Linked DNA regions of Homo sapiens: region 2 is linked to region 1. Evidence: promoter capture Hi-C in human tissues and cell types (Jung and others, 2019). All regions are on one chromosome and are shown on one strand. The core of a region is centred on a gene start or on the middle of the fragment in contact, and the rest is flanking DNA. Distances in the headings are between cores, read along the strand shown. Region 1 holds the start of CYP3A7 (cytochrome P450 family 3 subfamily A member 7). Region 2 overlaps ZKSCAN1 (zinc finger with KRAB and SCAN domains 1).

The links. Contacts are between HindIII fragments. The study calls those that stand out against the background at their distance.
Region 2: a fragment that was not itself captured here is called in contact with the fragment with the promoter of CYP3A7 in region 1 in 3 of the 25 tissues and cell types used here (liver, mesendoderm cells and thymus).

What each region holds. Positions count from the first base shown.
Region 1 is chr7:99,733,174-99,737,381 of GRCh38, reverse strand. CYP3A7 (cytochrome P450 family 3 subfamily A member 7) reads left to right here and starts at 2,186. Exons shown (of 13, transcript NM_000765.5): 1 at 2,186-2,359. The coding sequence starts at 2,289. It overlaps CYP3A7-CYP3A51P (CYP3A7-CYP3A51P readthrough), which reads left to right and starts at 2,186. Exons shown (of 15, transcript NM_001256497.3): 1 at 2,186-2,359. The coding sequence starts at 2,289. It also overlaps a transcript of ZSCAN25 not described here. RefSeq lists enhancers at 718-729, 1-1,026, 2,011-2,041 and promoters at 2,047-2,289, 1-2,289. The HindIII fragment of the contact is 8,535 bases long and covers 1-4,208 here.
Region 2 is chr7:100,019,937-100,024,144 of GRCh38, reverse strand. It overlaps ZKSCAN1 (zinc finger with KRAB and SCAN domains 1), which reads right to left. Exons shown (of 6, transcript NM_003439.4): 2 at 213-726. The coding sequence starts at 638. Among named protein-coding and RNA genes, the nearest start is that of ZKSCAN1, 6.4 kb to the right of the region's middle. The HindIII fragment of the contact is 5,144 bases long and covers 1-4,208 here.

The sequences.
Region 1 (4,208 bases), core at 937-3,436:
CCTTGAGACAGGAACACGAATCTCAACCAATTTCTGGTTGCAGCCTTGAGTCTTACTATTTGCCATAGTGATGCTTAGCAAGGAATGGCAGGTGCACCAGAGCAGCAGAGGACCTAATATCTCCCTTCCTGTTAACTTTTTATAATATTTTATTGTGATCAGTATCAGTTGGGAAGCTACTTGCAGTCACTGAGCCTCAGTTTCTACATCTGTAAACTGGGGATAGTAGCATGGCCCTATTTAATGTGCTCAGCGAAGCCACTGAAAGGAGACAGAAATGTACCAGAATTCCCTGGACTTTTATCCTACTTCTCCTGGGGATTGTCACCCACCTACCCGTGTCTGTCCTTTGTTGCTTTGACGCTGTCACTTCTTTTCTTAGGTACCTCTCTGTAGGGCTCCATTATTCCAGGGATTCCAGAGTTACAGCACATGCATACCTCCATCCAAGCATGTTTATTTGTCTCCTGCTTCACTAGGCTGTCCCCAAGGAACATGTGGCTCCCGGCACATACCTGGCACAACACTGCACATGACATTCACCCACTTGGCCTTGAATCTGACAAGGAATCTGGCATGATGTTCACCTGCTGAGGCCAGGTGCCGAGCAGCCCTGGAGGCTTAGGGGCCAGAGGGATGGGAAAAGGTGTCTTTCTGGGGTGAGTATCAGTTTCTGCAGGAGTGCTGAACCTGAGAAAGAATAAAGAGAGAAGGAAGTGAACAAGCACAGCTTAAACATCATCTGTTTCTACTGAGTTTTAACAACTCTGAGATTTTGTTTGTCATGGAATCCATTTCTCAGGCCAAGCAGACACAGAACTTGGGTGTGAGTGATGATAATGAGCTGATATAATTTTCACACCCTCATCACTGAGATCTCTCCCATCAGGAATGGGTCACAGGGCTCACAGGTGGCAGCAACTGTTATTACAGGCCTCATCTCTACCAGCTCCTGGCACCTGCTCTCCTCCCATTAGAAAATCCTCCACTTGTCAAAAAGGAAGCCATTTGCTTTGAATTCCAATTCCACCCTCAAGAGGCTGGGACCACCTCATTGGAGTCCTTGATGCTGTGTGACCTGCAGTGACCACTGCCCCATTGTTGCTGGCTGAGGTGGTTTGGGTCAACCTGGCCATCTGGGCAGCTGTTCTCTTCTCTTCTTTCTCCCCTACTGTTTCCAGACATGCAGTATTTCCAGAGAGAAGGGGCCACTCTTTGGCAAAGAACCTGTCTAACTTTCTATCTACGGCAGGACTTTTGAAAGCTACAGAGGAAGAAGCACAAATTGATGCTATTCCACTAAGCCATCAGCTCCATCTCATCCATGCCATGTCTCTTTTTTAGGGGTCCTCTTGCCAACAGAATCACAGAGGACAAATCTGAAAGTGCAGAGACAGCAGCTGAGGCACAGCCAAGAGCTCTGGCTGTATTAATGACCTAAGAAGATGGAGTGGTCACCAGAAAGTCAGAGGAAGTGACACACAGGGGCCCAGCAATCTCAGCCAAGTCAACTCCACCAGCCTTTCTGGTCCCCACTGTGTGTACAGCACCCTGATAGGGACCAGAGCCATGAGAGTGAGTAAGACCAGACTATGCCCTTGAGGAGCTCACCTCTGCTAAGGGAAACAGGCCTGGAAACACACAATGGTGGTAAAGAGGAAAGAAGACAATAGAACTGCATGAAGGGGATGGAAAGTGCCCAGGGGAGGAAATGGTTACTTCTGTGTGAGGGGGTTGGTGAGGAAAGACTCTAAGAGAAGGCTCTGTCTGGCTGGGTATGAAAGGATGTGTAGGAGTCTTCTAGGGGGCACAGGCACACTCCAGGCATAGGTAAAGATCTGTAGGCATGGCTTGTTGGGATGAGTTTCAAGTATTCTGGAATGAGGACAGCCATAGAGACAAGAGGAGAGTTAATAGATTTTATGCCAATGGCTCCACTTGAGTTTGTGATAAGAACCCAGAACCCTTGGACTCCCCAGTAACATTGATTGAGTTGTGTATGATTCTACATAGAATATTAACTCAATGGAGGTCAGTGAGTGGTGTGTGTGTGATTATTTGCCAACTGCCGAGGTGGAGAAGCCTCTTCCGACTGCAGGCAGAGCACGGGGGCCCTGCTACTGGCTGCAGCTCCAGCCCTGCCTCCTTCTCCAGCATATAAACAATCCAACAGCCTCACTGAATCACTGCTGTGCAGGGCAGGAAAGCTCCACACACACAGCCCAGCAAACAGCAGCACGCTGCTGAAAAAAAGACTCAGAGGAGAGAGATAAGGAAGGAAAGTAGTGATGGATCTCATCCCAAACTTGGCCGTGGAAACCTGGCTTCTCCTGGCTGTCAGCCTGATACTCCTCTATCTGTGAGTAACTGTTCAGGCTCCTCTTCTCTGTTTCCTTGGACTTGGGGTGCTAATCAGGCCTCTCTTTCCCTTATCTGTTTTGAATAGCAAAAAGGATGTTCAGGCTGGCCGTGGTGGCTCACACCTGTCATCCCAGAACTTTGGGATGCTGAGCAGGTGGACTGCCTGAGGTCAGGAGTTCAAGACCAGCCTGGCTAATATGGTGAAACCCCATCTCTACTAAAATTACAAAAATTAGCTGGGCATGGTAGTGCATAACTGTAGTCCCAGCTACTTGGGTGGCTGAGGCAGGAGAATTGCTTGAACCTGGGAGGCGGAGGTTGCAGTGAACTGAGATCATGCCACTGCACTCCAGCCTGGGTAACAGAGTGAGATTCCATCTCAAAAAAAAAAAAAGAGAAAAAAAAGAAAAAAAAAGATTTTCAAGGAGAAGTAGCTTAAGTGTTGGATGCTACAAACATATAGAGGTTATGATGGATGTTTTGCAGATCTATAAAGGAATAAATAAGCATCTCCCCCATTCATCTTTAGTGGAAAGAAGGGTTTAGGGACAGCATTGATTGAGGATAATCTAATAGACAATGGTTTGTACCCAGCTTACCAAACCAGAATTTGGATTTTACATTTTTCCCTTTAAGTTGCAGGAGAAGAGGGTGAATCTTCTCACCAGTGAGATCCTGGCATCCTAGAGCAGGTGGAGAGAAGAGTCACTCCCTACTGTGTGTACTGGAGGCTTCCCGCCTGTCACATTTTACTTCTAACTCAATTTCACAGTTATTAAGAGTAAGGAATCATGGTCACATGGAAACAGAAAATACAAACCTCGTTTTAATTCTTTCACAGAAAAGTTAGCAATTCAGTGAGTTGTGGTAACATAGTTTCCATCTACTGGCAATTTAACATGAATTGGTGTGGCTTAAATTCATCCTTTTTAAAGCCAGATTTTTTTGGAGATAGACTATTTCCAGCATGTTCCTTCTGAGTGATAAAAGAGGGCTATTAGTTCAGTATTTGTGACAATAAATGTGTATAAGATAACCTCACCTTTCCAGAATAATGTCAGGAATATGAGTCTAATGTACAAATATATATCTCTAGGACAAGACTGCATATGTCTTTTTAAAAATACTTTCCCAAGAGTTTATTTTAATACCCCCATTTCAAATACACCTGCTTAGCAGGTTATCCTAAACTCTCAGGGCTAGAAAGTAAGCAAGACTGTGAGCCAGTGATGATAGCAAAAGCATCCAGGTAGGATCAAGATGAAGTGAGAAAATATTCCTTACCCCTCAGGGTAGAACTCCAAATAGATATTCATGGGTCCTGGCCCCCTAGTGGAGGTCACTTGAAGGACAAACATGTTGGCATCTCATCTGCTTGAAGCCTGGACACAAGGGCACCATCAGTGTCACTCTGTGTGTGGCTGGCCATGTTGTGGGGCTGTCACTACAGATTCTGGCAGTCAGGCAGACAATACCTTAGCCTTAGACGATGCCGGTACAGCCCAGGATTCAGAAGCTATAGTGTAGACCATGCCCTTCTTAGGCCTATACAATTACATGCAATAGATGATGGATTTTTCTGTTAGCCTCTTCATTGTAACAAAAAGCAGCATTACTCTACCAAACAGAGGGGAGCTGGAAAGAAACTAAACAGTTTGCCAAGCACAGCCTCTGCCTTGACGTGGAATCATGTGAATCTAGACACTCACCTAGATCTTTCCTCGGGGGCCAATGCTGCTCACACATTAACTCAATAGTTTGTCCTGGCCTGAGAGATCATGTAACATGTAGAAAGTTTAGAAGCAGAGATTAGTGCCATTGATTTTCCATGGCTGTGACAACAAAGG
Region 2 (4,208 bases), core at 1,170-3,669, 290 kb before region 1:
GACAGGTTGGGCTTGTGGGTAAATCACTTTGTAAATGGGAATTAAAATATTTAAAAACAGACCATGAGTATGCCAGTGGATGCAGGAAGAAAGCCAGAACATTTTTAAGACAGAGTAACCACCTAATAACCTAAAGCCTGCCAATACTTCTCCTGGCTCCAGTTTCAACGTCTGTGCCCTGCTCACACATAATAGGTTTCACCTCTTTTTACCTGTTGTCCTGATAAATCAAGCTCCAAGTCTTCTAGAAGGGTCACGGCCTCCTCTCCACTATCGGGGCGGTATTCCTGCAGCCAGACCTGGAGCTCCTTGGGCAGGATGGAAAGAAACTGCTCTAGCACCAGAAGCTCCAGGATCTGTTCCTTGGTGTTTATTTCTGGCCGCAGCCACTGATGACAAAGTTCCTTCAGCCGACTGAGAGCCTCTCGGGGCCCAAAAGTGTTCTGGTAACAGAAGCGCCTGAAGCGTTGGCGGAATATCTCTGGGTCTGGAGGAGGCGTGTCCTGTAGGGTGGAATCCTGCCCCCACATGTGGTCTTCCTCATCTTCCTCTTCCACCTTCACTATTACGATACCATCCTTCTCCTGTGCAGCCTGTGGGGACAGACCCGTGGCTTCCCGTGATTCAGCAGTCATCATTCAGGCTCCAGGAACTGACTTGATCCAAACAGGGTCTGTGCTCACCTTTATGTCCTGGGAGGTTTTATGATGTGTTTCTTTACTATTCCTGAAGTATAAAAAAAAAGTCATTAGTACGTACCTTTACAAAAAGTGATCTGTGCTGCTAACACTTTATAGGAGGCAGCACATCGAGGCACTATCAGAACGCTCCTGAGGCCGGGGGTGGTGGCTCACGCCTGTAATCTCAGCACTTTGGGAGGCCGAGGCAGGCCAATCGCCTGCGGTCAGGAGTTCAAGACCAGCCTGGCCAACATGGTGAAACCCCGTCTCTACTAAAAATACAAAAGTCAGCAGGGCATGGTGGCAGGCGCCTGTAATCCCAGCTACTCGGAAAGCTGAGGCAGGAGAAACGCTTGAACCCAGGAGGTGGAGGTTGTAGTGAGCCGAGATTACGCCACTGCACTTCCTACCTGGGAGACAAGAAGTTAAACTCCGTCAAAAAAAAAAAAATCCTGACAAATCGAGGAAAAAACTGTACAATCTCCACTGTCACTTCATATATCAAGATTTGCAAACAGAAACCTCAAACAGGCCGACTCCACCCTCAGGGTGTTTGCTTGGAGTCAGAGTGATTTACCTGCAGGTTGACAGCAGGTTACGAAATGGAGCATTAACAGTGCCCAGCCCAGAGAGCTGAATGTTAGCAGAGTGCCAGGTGCCAGGCTTAAAGCAGTACACGCACCATCTTCTTTTGTCCCTACAACAGCCCTAGCAGGTCGGCCAAACTGTTAAGTGCTGTTTTACAAATGACATAACTGAGGGTTAGGTTTGCTCAGTAGTAGGTGGCTGCCTACTGGAGTCAATATTCAACCAAATTTGAAGCCCTGGGACCTACTTTTGTACCATCCAGCTACTTTTGCTATTTTTATGAGTGACTTGGGCAGTTAAATTGTGGTTTCCAAAGTACAAGATGATCCGCAAAGGATACAGAAAGAAAATAATTGGAATGTCTGTATCTTAAAAGAGAGAGAAATTAAGCTATAAATTGACACTAATACACTTACTTAGTCTGTGCTGACCTGTCACAGGTGTTGTTCATTTTAGACATTGTGATGTAGACTGGTTTATCTGAGACCAGTTATGTGAAATAATGGATTTCTAAATCTAGCTTTGGCTGGGCGCAGTGGCTCATGCCTATAATCCCAAAACTTTGGGAGGCCAAGGCGTGCGGATCACGAGGTCAGGAGATCGGGACCATCCTGGTCAACATGGTGAAACCCTGTCTCTACTAAAAATAGAAAAATTAGCTGGGCGCGGTGGCGGGCACCTGTAGTCCCAGCTACTTGGGAGGCTGAGGAAGGAGAATCACTTGAACCCAGGAGGCGGAGGTTGCAGTGAGCCGAGATCGCGCCACTGCACTCCATCCTGGCCACAGAGCGAGACTCTGTCATAAAAGAGACAAGCAGCTTTAAAGATTCTTGTGGCCAGATATGGTAGCTCATGCCTATAATTCCAGCCCTTTGGGAGGATGAGGCAGGAGGATGCTTGAAGCCAGAAGTTTGAGACCAGCCTGGGCAACATAGCAAGACCCTGTCCCTATGAAAAAGAAAAAAATTAGCTGGGCATGGGGACTGTGTCTGCAGTCACAGCTACTCAGGAGGCTAAGGTGGGAGGATTGCATGAAACCAGAAGTTTGAGGCTGCAGTCAGCTACGATCACGCCACTGCATTCCAGCCTGGGTGACAGAGCAAAGCCCTATCAGGAAAAGGAAAAAAAAAAAAAAAAAGATTCTTATAGAGAAACTGCAATTACAGGACACACTAATAATATAAACAGATGTGAACAAGAAGAAAATGGCACAGATGAAGCTTCTATCTAGAGTAAGGTTTTAGCCACATTAGGAGGTAAAAACCAATGTCAGTCTAAATCAAAGAAAAAGTCACCAATGAGTAATCAGCTTCTTTAAAGAAAGTGTGAAGAAAGGGCAATTACAGGAACAGCTGTATGAAATGGTTCCATTGTTATGTAATTTAACTGCCAAAAATGATGTCAAGTATCCAGGAAAAACCCATCTATGTTCACATTTTAGAAACTTGGGGCTGGGTGAGGTGGCTCATGCCTGTAATACCAGCACTTTGGGAGGCTGAGGCAGGGAGCAGGGGGCCACCTGCGGTCAGGAGTTCAAGACCAGCTTGGCCATCATCGTGAAACCCCGTCTCTACTAAAAATACAAAAAATTAGCTGGGCATGGTAGCAGGCGCCTGTAATCCCAGCTATTTGGGAGACTGAGGCAGGAGAATCGCTTGAACCCAGGAGGCTGAGGTTGCAGTGAACTGAGATCACGCCATTGCACTCCAGCCTGGGTAACAAAGTGAGACTCCATCTCAAAAAAAAAAAAAAAAAAAAAAGGAAAAAAAAAAGAAACTTGGAAATATTTTCTAACCTGTTTAAAAATCTTTCAAATGAAGAATTTCAGGTGGGTCTTAAGCCTATTTGTTAAAAATATAAAATGCCACCACCTGATTAGTTTGTAAGACTATACCCTGCATTTCAACAACAAAAATTCAGCATGGTTGATAGGTTGGATCAATCACAAGTTACTAAGCAGAACTGACACTGTGATTCTTCCATCTGAAGCTACAAATCTTTCTGAATTTATTCTTTTCACCTCTACAGCCATCAAAACTAAGCATCAAATTGAAGTTTTAGAAACAGACCATTAAACTGCTTTATCATGATGGGTTAAACCGAGTTTTAAACTAGCAAAAGCATTTTTAGTTTTATGGCTCTCACTAAACATATTCTTAATTTTGGTGAAAAAGGGATCATGTACATATAACAGCACAAAAATTATATATACATATATATTGAAACGGAGTCTTGCTCTATCGCCCAGGCTGGAGTGCAATGGCATGATCTCAGCTCACTGCAACATCCGCCTCTCGGGTTCAAGTAATTCTCCTGCCTCAGCCTCCTGAGTAGCTGGGATTACAGGCCATACTTATTTTTTTTAATCTAGTTCCATGAAGTCCAGCTTCCTTTCTTTGGTTCCCTGCCTTCATTTTCTCCCTTCTCTCCCACAATCCACCTTTCAGATTATTCTTTCTAAAACTCTACAGCCTTGCAGTTAATACTTTCCAGTGCCTGGTCCCAATTTTCCCTCAAGCTTCTTTTCCCATCAATCCCCCCATAAACCTTCCCTATGCAACAAAAGCCCTCTCATCAGTATTTCCTATATATGCCTTGTATTTTGACTGCCATCCTTTCCTCACATCACACTCCATGCCTGGGACTTCCCCCCGCAGTCCTCTCTGCCTTTTCAAATCCTACTTAACCTTTAAAGCTAGCTAAAACGCGACTTGCCTCTTATCACTGTTCAAGAACCCTCTCATAACTATAACAGTAAGAGCCAATGTTTACTGAGTGCTTTCTAGGTACCGGGTATTTAAGCATTTTCACTTGACCACATAACAATCTTAGCAGGTAGCTACACTTATCATCTCACTGTATAAAGAACTGAGAGGCTGAGCGCAGCGGCTCATGCCTGTCATCCCAGCACTTTGGGAGGCCAAGGCAGATAGATAACCT